2 separate regions of the Homo sapiens genome follow, and region 1 is linked to region 2. The links are contacts of gene promoters, found by promoter capture Hi-C in blood cells and fetal thymus (Javierre and others, 2016). All regions are on one chromosome and are shown on one strand. Each heading gives the region's core, a stretch centred on a gene start or on the middle of the fragment in contact. The rest is flanking DNA. Distances are from core to core; before and after follow the strand shown. Region 1 has its middle 6.2 kb from the start of TAF1L. Region 2 holds the start of TMEM215 (transmembrane protein 215).

Region 1 (5,862 bases), core at 127-2,626, 140 kb before region 2:
TTTTTATACTCCAGTTATGTGAATGTTAGACCTTACTTTATCCTCTATGTTTCTTAGTCAATATTCTGTACTTTCCCTTTTAAAAATTTTCTTTAGGTTTCATTCTGTATATTTTTCTCTGACCCAGCTTCCAGTTTACAATTTTTTTCTTCAATTTTATGTAATCCTCTGTTAAACCCATCCATTCAGCTCTTCATTTTACCTATTGTATTTTTCAATTTTATAATTTCTAGTTGGTTCTTTTTTAGTTTTACAAGGTCACCTCTTATGGTTTCTATGACTGCACTGATATTTTTAAACAAAGCATTTATATCCATGAGCATATTAGTACTGTTGTTTTACAACATCCGTCTGATAATTCTGGTATTTGGACTCTTGTAGCTCTTGTTTTTGTTGTCCACTGTTTTCCTTAGTTCTGGCTTGATTTGTCTTGAGTCTCATTTTGCATTATAGTCTTTCATAGCTTGGTAAAAAAATTAAAATTATATTTATTGATAGTTTGAGACCCAGGATGGTGTTATTTTCCTTCACAAAGGATTTTACTTTTTTTCACCTTTAAGACACCTGAGTATATTAGCAGTCTGGAACCAATATTTGAGGGTTTGGCAGGCTAGAGTAAAATCCATAAACCATGCTTCCAGGTTGCAGTCTTTGTCTCAAGCCAGAGCAAAAGATACTATATTAGGGCCTCTGTCTTTGAGGGAGATGAACACCAGTTCCTAAACTTGCATGCATCTGAGTAATCAAAAGCTTAGCTCTGTGTCTGCTGCTTCCAGTCCATTGCCAAAAAGCCTCAAAGCCAAAATGGCAGGCCTTGTGGTTCCAGGATACACAGTGGGTGATTTCCCAAGATCTCAGTGAAGCTCTGCCTCAGCTTCCTTTTAACTATCAGCAAATCCTCCTTTCCAAAGAGATGTTGTTTCACCTCTTTGAGCTCTAATTGTTGTCTTAATTCCTTACTATCTTGTTAGATTCTAATGTTTGTAAGAAAGTGTGTGTCTGTGTGTGTGTTTTGTTCCACTTTTAAAATTGTCTTCAAGTGGGAGATTTGATTGAAATCATCTGCTCTGCTAGCCCTGGAATCTGGAATATGGGCTAATATCTTAATGGGGGAGACCAAAAATAAATAAACAAGTAAATACATATTATGTCAGGTGGTGATAAGTGCTATTGCGAAAACTAAGGCAGAATAAGGGAGATAGGAATGCCATGGGTGAGGGAAAAAGTTGTCAGGGAAGATCCTTCTGAAATTATGACATTTGAGTGAATAGCTATGAAAAGTGAGAGAGGTAATTGTTCTATGTAACTTTGGGGGCAGTGTGTGTGCAAGAGGGTAGGTGGCAAGAGATAAAATGATGAGGTGAGGGGGTAGCTGAGGGCAAAATTATATAGGGCCTTGCAGGTCATTACTGTTTCAGAATTTTACTGTGAGTGAAAGAAGGAGCCATTAAAAGTTTTGAGCAAAAGAATGACTTGATCTTACCTGCATTTGAAATAGATAACTCTGGCCTCTATGTTGAAAACTGATTGTAATGAGGTAAAAGAAGAAGTGGGTCCAGCTGGGAAGTTATTAAAATAATTCTGGTGAGAGAGTGAGATACGACGGAAGCATGGACCAAGATAGTAGCAACAGAGGTGGTGAAAGTGTTCAGATTTTTAATACATAGTATTTTGAAGGTAAAGTCAACAGGATTTACTGATGAACTGGATATGTGGTGTCAGAGAAAGACAGGAGATAAGGTTTTAGCCTGGGCAACTAGACGGACAGAGAAACCATTTCCTGAGATGTAGAAGACTGTATAAAGAGAAGACAACAGCAGAGACATGGGGGATGTTAGTGGAGAGTCAGGAGTTTGATTTTGGACAGGTTAATTTTAAGATTCCCTATTAGATAGATTTCAACTGGAGATTTCAGTAGAGGCCGAGTACAAGTCTACAAGTTAGGAAAATAGGTCAGGGCTAGAATTATAAATTTGAGGCTCATTGGTATATAAATGCTTTCAAAGCTTAGGGACTGTGAATGGTGTTACCTAAGGAGTAAGTAAAGACAAAGAAATAAAAAGATTTTAGGGCTAAACTCTGCAGTGTTCTAATACTCAGCAATCAGTAGATAAGAAGGACCTGAACAGCCAGTGGCATAGAAGGAGAACGAAGAGAAAGTGATGCTTCAAGCCAAGTGAAGAAAGTGATTAAAAAATGAAGCGTGGTCTGGCCGGGGGCAGTGGCTCACGCCTGTAATCCCAGCACTTTGGGAGGCCAAGGCGGGCAGATCACGAGGTCAAGAGATCAAGACCATCCTGGCTACAGTGAAACCCTGTCTCTACTAAAAATACAAAAAAAAAATTAGCCGGGCGTGGTGGCAGGCACCTGTAGTCCCAGCTACTTGGGAGGCTGAGGCAGGAGAATGGTGTGAACCCAGGAGGCGGAGCTTTCAGTGAGCTGAGATCGTGCCACTGCACTCCAGCCTGGGCGACAGTGCGAGAGACTCCGTCTCAAAGAAAAGGGAAGGGAAGGGGAGGGGACAGGAGGGGAAGGGAGGGGACAGGATAGGAGGGGAGGGAACGGGAGGGGAGGGGAGGGGAGGGGAGGGGGTGTTGTCAACCAACAGTTGCTGAAAGTGCAAGTAAAGCCATGGATTGAGCAATAGTGAGGCCAAATTTTAGAAAAGTAAATCTAAGGAATAAACAGCATTTGAAAACATTGGCATTAAAATGACATTTGTTCTTTTGAGTAAAATTTAAGAAAAAGAATTATAATGGGACCCTCTGGGCAACAGCAAATAACAGCCTTCTTTGGTATCAACTTGATAGACAGAAGTATCTCCCCACCCCTGCCGTGAAAAATGCTCAACAGTTTGTCACTTTATTTGCAGTATTATTTCTTTAGTCTCAGAAATAGCTTTGTACCCTTTGACTTCTAGATTATTTTTTATTTTTCATTTTTTCATATTTCATCAAATACTTTCATATATGATGATATGGTGGCAGGTGGGTATTAGGTAACTTTTGAGCTCTTATACAAAACAAAAGAAACATTTGGAATCTTCAAAGAATACAAACAAGCTTGCATGTCTACAAATTCTGAAACATTTTCCCAAATAATAACACATTAATAAAACCTTAAGTACTTTAATTATTTCTAAATTTTATATATATATATCCAATTAGTTCTTTCAGTCTTTGTTTTAAACATAATTTATTTTCTCCACAGAAAACATTTATTTTTTAGTTATCATACAGAATGGGAAATTCAATTTTCTTTCATCAAAATGATTTCCTGATGTCGTTCAATTTAAAAATTTTAATATGACATTAAATATGTTTAAACTACTTAGGATAGTTAAAATTAGAAATTGTTTCATTTTCATTTTTTATTTTTTTAAATAAGAAAAAGCATTTTATGGTGTGAATATTTTTGAGTGCATTCATATGAACATAGAAAAAATATAAACATTAAACTGCCATTTCTTGTTTTGAGGAAGGAATGATAGTGGGAATGAGAGTCATGGGAAAGGAGAACATTGTTGGTTTTTCTTTTTTATAACTTTTATTTTAGGTTTTGGGGTACATGTGAAGGTTTGTTATATAGGTAAATGTGTCACAGGGGTTTGTTGTACAAATTATTTCATCACCCATGCATTAAGCTATTACCCAATAGTTATTTTTTCTGCTCTTCTCCCTCCTCCCACCCTTCACTCTCAGGTAGACTACAGTGTACAGCATCTGTTGTTCCCTTCTTTGTGTTCATAAATTCTCATCGTTTAGCTACCACTTGTAAGTGAGAACATGCAGTATTTGGTTTTCTGTTGCTGCATTAGTTTCCTAAGGATAATTGCCTCCGGCTCCATCCATGTTCCTGCAAAAAACATGATCTTGTTCTTTTCTATGGCAGCATAGTATTTCATGGTGTATATGTACCACATTTTCTTTATCCAATCTGTCATTGATGGGCATTTAGGTTGATTCCATGTCTTTGTTATTGTGCATATTCCTGCAATGAACATTCATGTGCGTGTGTCTTTATAGTAGAACGATTTATATTTCTTTGGGTACATACCCAGTAATGGGATAGCTGGGTCGAATGGTAGTTCTGCTGTTAGCTCTTTGAGGAATCACCACACTGCTTTCCACAATTTAAACTCCCACCAACAGTGTATAAGTGTTCCCTTTTCTCTGCAACCTTGCCGGCATGTTATTTTTTGACTTTTTATTATAGCCATTCTGACTGGTGTGAGATGCTATTTCATTGTGGTTTTAATGAGCATTTCTCTAATGAATGGTGATATTGATCTTTTTTCATATGCTTGCTGGCTGCATGTATGTCTTCTTTTGAAAAGTGTCTGTTCATGTCTTTTGCCCACTTTTTAATGGGGTTGTTTGTTTTTCTCTTGTAAATTTGTTTAAGTTTCTTATAGATGATGAATAGTAGACTTTTGTCACATGCATAGTTTGCAGATGCTTTCTCCCATTCTGTAGATTGTGTGTTTACTCTGTGGATAGTTTCTCTTACTGTGCAGAAGCTCTTAATTAGATCCCATTTGTCAATTTTTACTTCAGTTGTGTTTGCTTTTGGTGTCTTTGTCATGAAATCTTTGCCAGTTCCTGTGTCCAGGATGGTATTGCCTAGGTTGTCTTCTAGGGTTTTTACAGTTTTGGGTTTTACATTTAAGTCTTTAATCCATTTTCGGTTGATTTTCCATGAAGCAAAATAATACTTGCTTCATGGGATCATTACGATTTTATAGGGCCAAGCATTGAGTAGGTGCTGAATAAAAGAAAAGTATTCATCATCACCATCGTTATCATCATCATTGTTCAATGATCTCCAAAATAAAGTAGTTAAAAAAGTTAAGCTAGGGTAAGCACTATCATTACCAAAGGTTAGGATTTGGTTTTACAGGAAATATATTTATTTATATTAAGAGTTTAACAATAAAACCCACGAAGGGGAAAAGGAGGGAAGATTCATTGCATTCCCTGTACTGGATAACAGGTATTTTTACACACATCTTTTAGTTAAACCTGACAAACCTTTCTTTAGTTAAATCCCAGAAAGGAGGTAGTATATGCCCATTTTATAGATGGAAATTGAATCTCAGAAGGACTAAGTGATTTGGCCAAGATCACATAGCTGTTAACTGGTAGAAGTGAATCAGCTTCACTTCTTTTGACTCCAAATTTCATACTAAACTTCAAACTTACAGTCACTTTGGAGGCTATTGAAATTGGACCACCCACTCTCATCTAGTCTAGATCTAAATCCAAAGCTTGTGGGTGGCATAGGCTTTCACAGCCCTCAGGTTTTCTTGTTTGGTTGGTTGGTTGGTTTTTGGAGATGGAGTCTTGCTCTGTTGCCTAGGCTGGACTGGAGTGCAGTAGCTCAATATAGGTTCACTGCAACTTCCGCCTCCCGGGTTCAAGCAATTCTCCTGCCTCAGCCTCCCAAGTAGCTGGGACTACAGGCGCCCACCACCATGCCTGGCTAATTTTTTTTTTTTTTTTTTTTTTTTTTTTGTATTTAGTAGAGCCAGGGTTTCACCATGTTGCCCAGGCTGGTCTCAAACTCCTGAGCTCAGGGTATCCTCCTGCCTCGGTCTCCCAAAGTGCTGGGATTACAGGCATAAGCCACCATGCCTGGCTATAGCCCTCAGCTTTTATTCACTCTTTCATCCACATCCTAACCACACCAAAGGAACCCCATAATTTGGAGGGCTAGTGACCACTCCTGCTGCCTGCACAGAGCTTAGCTGTGCCAGCCCTTCTCTGCATGGAGTTGGAACATTCCTTTCCCTGGACAGTTCCCTTCCTTAGCTGGCAAATTAGATGGAGCTGGGCCTGGGCCGACTGTACCTCCTGTGTTCCC
Region 2 (5,409 bases), core at 107-2,606:
TCTCACAGCCTTTATGATTTGTTTGGCTCCTGTCATACATGATGAAGACACTAATTATGATGACAAATATATATACATATACATGTGTACGTGTGTGCATGTGTGTGTAATTTTTGTACACAGACTATGTACCAAGCATTGTGCTAGGAACTTTACGTTTATTTAATCCTCACAATGTTTCCTCATATATTTGGTATTAATCTCATTTTACAGATAGGACGACTGATTCTCAGAGAGGTTAAGTCACTTGCCCAGGAATATACAGCTAGTTTAACTGGGGAAGGCCTGGATGTGAAAATTCTTTCCAGTAAATCAGTGTCTTGACATGAAAGCATGTACCGCTCATCAACCTGTTCTCCACCGCCCTCCTCTATCCTAAATGGGCAGCCCTGTTGAAGAATCACAGCCAAAGCCAGTCTTGCCCCCCGGGGCCAGAGGAATCCATCTGCCCCTGCCTACCAGAGCGGGAGGAACGCAGGCTCTCAATGCCTGCTTCAGCAAGGGAGGAGAGAATCGCCCAGAGCTGAGCGGCGTCGTAGGGTGGTGGTCCTGACCGGTCAAGGCCCCTTCTCCTCGTGAACTGGGGGCCAGGGAGCCCTTCTCCCTGTCCCCCCGGCACCACAGCGCTGTAGAAGTGAAATCCCGGCTCCAAGGTCACCCTCTCCCGAGCCTGGAGCTGGAAAGCCACGGGGACTCCGGGGACTCCCCCAAGGCCCGGACTAGCCTGGCACCCACCCCTCACCACTAACCCACTCCGCCTGGGCGCTGGTTCTGTGCGCTCCCGCGGCGCAGTCGCTCCGCTGCAAGAGCGCTTTCGCGCGCCGCCACCGCCCAGAGCCGGGACCAAAGCAGTCCTCGGGCACCGGCTCCCCGAGGGACACACACCCCCCCGCGCCCCGAGTCGAGGGGTTGAGAGAAGGGCGGTCGGGGAGCCCCTGGGCCTGCCGTCAGTCACCCGGATTTGTAACTGGAGAAGGGTGCGGGTCCCGGAGGGACATCTCCAGCTGGCACCTAACTCCTCGGATCCCGGACTGGGAGCCCGAGCTCGGATATTGCAACGGCTGCCCCGTGGGCAAACCGACCCTGGTTTCCGACTCCGGCCACTGGCAGCCTCGCGCCCCAGACCCTTCCCGGGCACGGAAGCGGGTCAGGTCGCCCTGCTCAGCCTCCGGAACGGCGGCGGCACAAACCCCGGCCGCTCCCAGCAGCCCCGACGAGACCCCGGGCAGCGCCTGCCGCCGGGTGGCCTCCCTCTGGGGCTGACCCCCTCGCGCCCCCGCGCGTCTGTCTGCGTTTCTGAGCCTGCTCTGACAGTGATGTAACAAGGCCAGGCTCGCGCCGCGTCCCCTCTTTCCCAGACTCAGTGCTCCCTCCTCCTCCCGCGCCCCGCGCTCTGCGCGCTGAGCTGGCGCCGGGCTCCGCTTGCACAGCACCGGGACCGACGGGCACTGCTGGGAGAGCCGCTCTCCCAGGTTCCACCTCCCCGATGCAGAGTCCGTGGGGGAAACCAGGCTTTCCTCCCAGAACCAAGGGAGCGAGCCGAGGGGGCAGCTGCTGTGGGGGCTTCTGAGGAGACAGCCTGGCTTCTTTCCCTACTTCCTGGAGAGGGCAGGAAACCTCAGGTACCTCGTTGACCCCAGCCGGAGCGTGTTGATATGAGAGAGAGACGGAGGTTGCAATAGTGAGAGGAAGAGAGGGAGGGCACAAGAAAGGGAGGGAGGGAGAGGGGACGGAGAGAAAGAGTAGAAATAGAAACAGGGAGAGATTGCAAGAGAAACGCAGAGAGAGAGATAGAGAGATTGCAAGAGAGATACAGAGACAGAGATCAAGACTGAAAGTCAAGAAGCAAGTCGGAGACAAAGGGCAAGAGAAAGACAAGAGTTGATGGGTGGGAGCTTGACTTGGATTTTTTTTTAACGCACTGTGGTTTCATCTCTGACAGAATAGAGGAACGCTGCTCCCTGGTCAGCAAGCAGCCCCCAACCTGGATGGAGTGAAACATGCGGCCTGATGACATTAACCCGAGGACTGGGCTGGTGGTGGCCCTGGTCAGTGTCTTCCTCGTCTTTGGTTTCATGTTCACCGTCTCTGGGATGAAAGGGGAGACTTTGGGAAACATCCCCCTCCTGGCCATCGGGCCAGCCATCTGCCTACCAGGCATCGCAGCCATTGCCCTGGCCAGGAAAACCGAGGGATGCACCAAGTGGCCAGAGAACGAGCTGCTGTGGGTCCGCAAATTGCCCTGCTTCCGGAAACCCAAAGACAAGGAGGTGGTAGAGCTGCTGAGGACCCCTTCAGACCTAGAATCCGGCAAGGGGAGCTCAGATGAGCTGGCTAAGAAGGCGGGCCTCAGGGGGAAGCCTCCCCCACAAAGCCAGGGTGAGGTGTCCGTGGCCAGCTCCATCAACAGCCCCACACCCACGGAGGAAGGAGAATGCCAGAGCCTCGTCCAGAATGGGCATCAGGAGGAGACGTCCAGATACCTGGACGGCTACTGCCCCTCGGGCAGTTCCCTCACCTACAGTGCCTTGGACGTCAAGTGCTCAGCAAGGGACAGATCTGAGTGCCCTGAGCCTGAGGATAGCATCTTCTTTGTGCCCCAGGACAGTATCATCGTTTGCTCCTACAAGCAGAACAGCCCGTATGACAGATACTGTTGTTATATCAATCAGATACAAGGCAGGTGGGACCACGAGACCATCGTCTAATCTCTGCCTACAAAGGTGGCTGGATTGATAGAATATGACTAAGCCCAGCTCCCCGTGGAAGCAAATTGCTCTGCTTGGAGAGCCTTCACACTGTTAGAAATTGACCTGGTATGTGATGGGTGTGATAACCTCTGGTACCCGAGAGTCATGTAAATAGGCATGTTGGGGACACATTTTAGGGAAGGGCGATGAGGGTTAAGGACACTGGAAGAGGCAGTGGGTAGGAAAGGAAGCTACTCCAGTTGCTTCTTAACAATTTACACAATGTTAAATGTTTTGTAAAATAACCCAAAAAGTGCTATCCAGAACCAGCTGAGAGCAAGATAAATCTAGAGTGGGCTGCAGATGTGAGGCATCAAATGATGCATGAGCTGACCACAGGGAAACTGAGCTGCTTTATGTTTGAATAAGTTGAAAATAAAATTAATGATCCGTTATATAAAGTAATTTTTGCCTGGTTAAAAGCTTATCACACTTGGTATTTGCTGAAAGAAAAAAAAATCAAGATACAAGAGTTAAACCCTCCTTAGATGGGATGGTTTTTGGGAAAAGGGTAGTTAAAGAGAGTTGGATTATGTAACTGAGTCTTGTGGCATTATTGTCTGACAAGATCATGGTCTCTAATAAAGTAAAATAAGTGTGAGCAGCTATGTGAAAAGTTAACATTTTTAGATGGCTATGTTACTTCTTAAACTCTTCGTTTAAATCCATTTATTGCATCTTTATCTGAAATGGGTTTTTTCTAAACATTTACTATCATTCATGTATTATTTCCTTACCAGGTGCAACATTATTTGAAATGATACTTTCATAGATTGGAATTTGTTTTCATCAAGACAAAATGAATTTTACATATATATCCAAGTCTTTAACATTGGCAGACATGTACTGATAATTACCATTCCTACATACCTTTTAAAATCTGAAAACTATAAAGTCTACACATTAGCCTTGAACATTGCACATAATTTGTATGAAATGCAATGGTTAAACCTTTGGAAGTGTCATTATTTGTACATTTGTTCAACTCCTCTCACAGACTGTAAATGCCAGTGAAACAAGAACTCATCTACTAAATTTAACTGAAGCCTAGATTTTATTAAGCTCACCTGATCAGTGAACATTACATGATAAAAGTCTCTTTATTTCATACATTTTTGCTGCTGAGGAAAACAACAAATCACAATGATATCCTAAAATGTGCTTTCTATTTCACTTGCTCAACTGCAATAGATAAGAAGGCTATCAAGCAGAATGCCATTTGATCCCCGGTGAAGAAAAATATGAATTATATATAGGAATGGTGATAGAGTTCATCTTGAAGATCAGAAGTATTTTGTATCCTTCAAAGAATGATCATTTTAAGTGATCATATAGTCTTAGTCACTTTCTCCCAAAAGGGGAATTGAGGACAAAAATTTGGGCATATATGTTTTGTGTATTTCAATTCCAACTCTGCAATTCTTTCTTAAGTATAGCAATTGTTCTGTCTTAAGAATCATGGTATTTTTAAAAAATCATAATTTTCAAGTCAAGTTCAAGATCAAAAATATGTAATTATTTTAGTAGGGCTTAAATATCAGAAATGAGATGCATGATCTTGGGCAAATTTTATCTTCTTACACCTGAGTTTCCTACTCTGTGAAGGGAGGGGGAACTGATTTACACTTGATTATTTCTATCATTCATTTTCAGTGTAAATATTCTATGGTGTTATGTCAAAGGCATTTTATATATTGCCAGGAAATGAGTTACAGCAAAATGCATGCCAAAGTTATGAAATTTATGATAATTATGTGACATACATTGCACAGCTACTACTCAAAAAAGAATTTTGTAGATGTATGAAAGCAGATTATTCAACACAATGCATTCCTGAGAATAAAATGAACATAATCAGAGTAAAATATTTTTGAGGAGAAAACTTAAAATGTTGGTATAACTCAAAGTAATCTAATACACAACCTTGCACTAAATGTGATTGACATTTGGATTTGGGATGGGGAGAGATAGTTTCCTAAAATCACAGTAACTTTTAATAATTGTAATGCATTTTGAAAACAGAGAATCATATTTTTATAATGGTGAGAACTATGCAATAACTCTTTAGGAATGAAAACTTCCTTTAAGAAGTTTGCCACCGTTAGAGATGAGGAGATAGTGAGACAGAGAGATGTTCACAGAGACTCAGCAAATCTTAGACAATAATGCTGCAATTTTCTGAAAGAAGATGCTTGCAGTGTCAGGTATGGTTTGGGGGTTGGAAAAGTTACTTTTCTGATTTCTTGGAACCATTTAAAACTCCTTTATATCATTCTGTCTCTTTCCAAATTGAGGGTCAACTACTAGTTTAGAGATATAAGGTATTTTATCTTGTTTTCAAGTTCTACTTCAGAAGAAAACCTATTTCATGTTTCTTCTCCCATTACCTACTTAAGATACTTAAGGTATTTAAGTATGCATTTGAGGAAATATTTTCCTGTGCTAAAATAAAGGTTTGCAAATGTTGGTGTGAGAGGTTTTAACTTTGACCAGTGAGAATAAAATGTATGATTGTGTGTGTGAATTTCTCCTAACATATTAACCAACTCCTTTCTATATGCAACAAGGTAACCTGGTGCCCCAAATCAATACTTGTAAGTACTATTCAGAGTTAAACTTCCAAAGTCAAAAAATATATATACACAAAAAAAGGGGAAAA

The links. Contacts are between HindIII fragments. The CHiCAGO score rates a contact against its expected background, and 5 or more counts as called.
Region 1: a contact is called between a fragment that was not itself captured here and the fragment with the promoter of TMEM215 in region 2, in 2 of 17 cell types (M2 macrophages and M0 macrophages). The highest score is 7.2, in M2 macrophages.

Annotation. Positions count from the first base shown.
Region 1 is chr9:32,638,980-32,644,841 of GRCh38, forward strand. No RefSeq gene overlaps it. Among named protein-coding and RNA genes, the nearest start is that of TAF1L, 6.2 kb to the left of the region's middle. The HindIII fragment of the contact is 1,256 bases long and covers 749-2,004 here.
Region 2 is chr9:32,782,184-32,787,592 of GRCh38, forward strand. TMEM215 (transmembrane protein 215) reads left to right here and starts at 1,357. Exons shown (of 2, transcript NM_212558.3): 1 at 1,357-1,622; 2 at 1,943-5,409. The coding sequence starts at 2,001. The coding sequence ends at 2,708. LOC105376017 (a long non-coding RNA gene) reads right to left here and starts at 723. Exons shown (of 7, transcript XR_929559.2): 1 at 460-723. The HindIII fragment of the contact is 4,873 bases long and covers 1-3,171 here.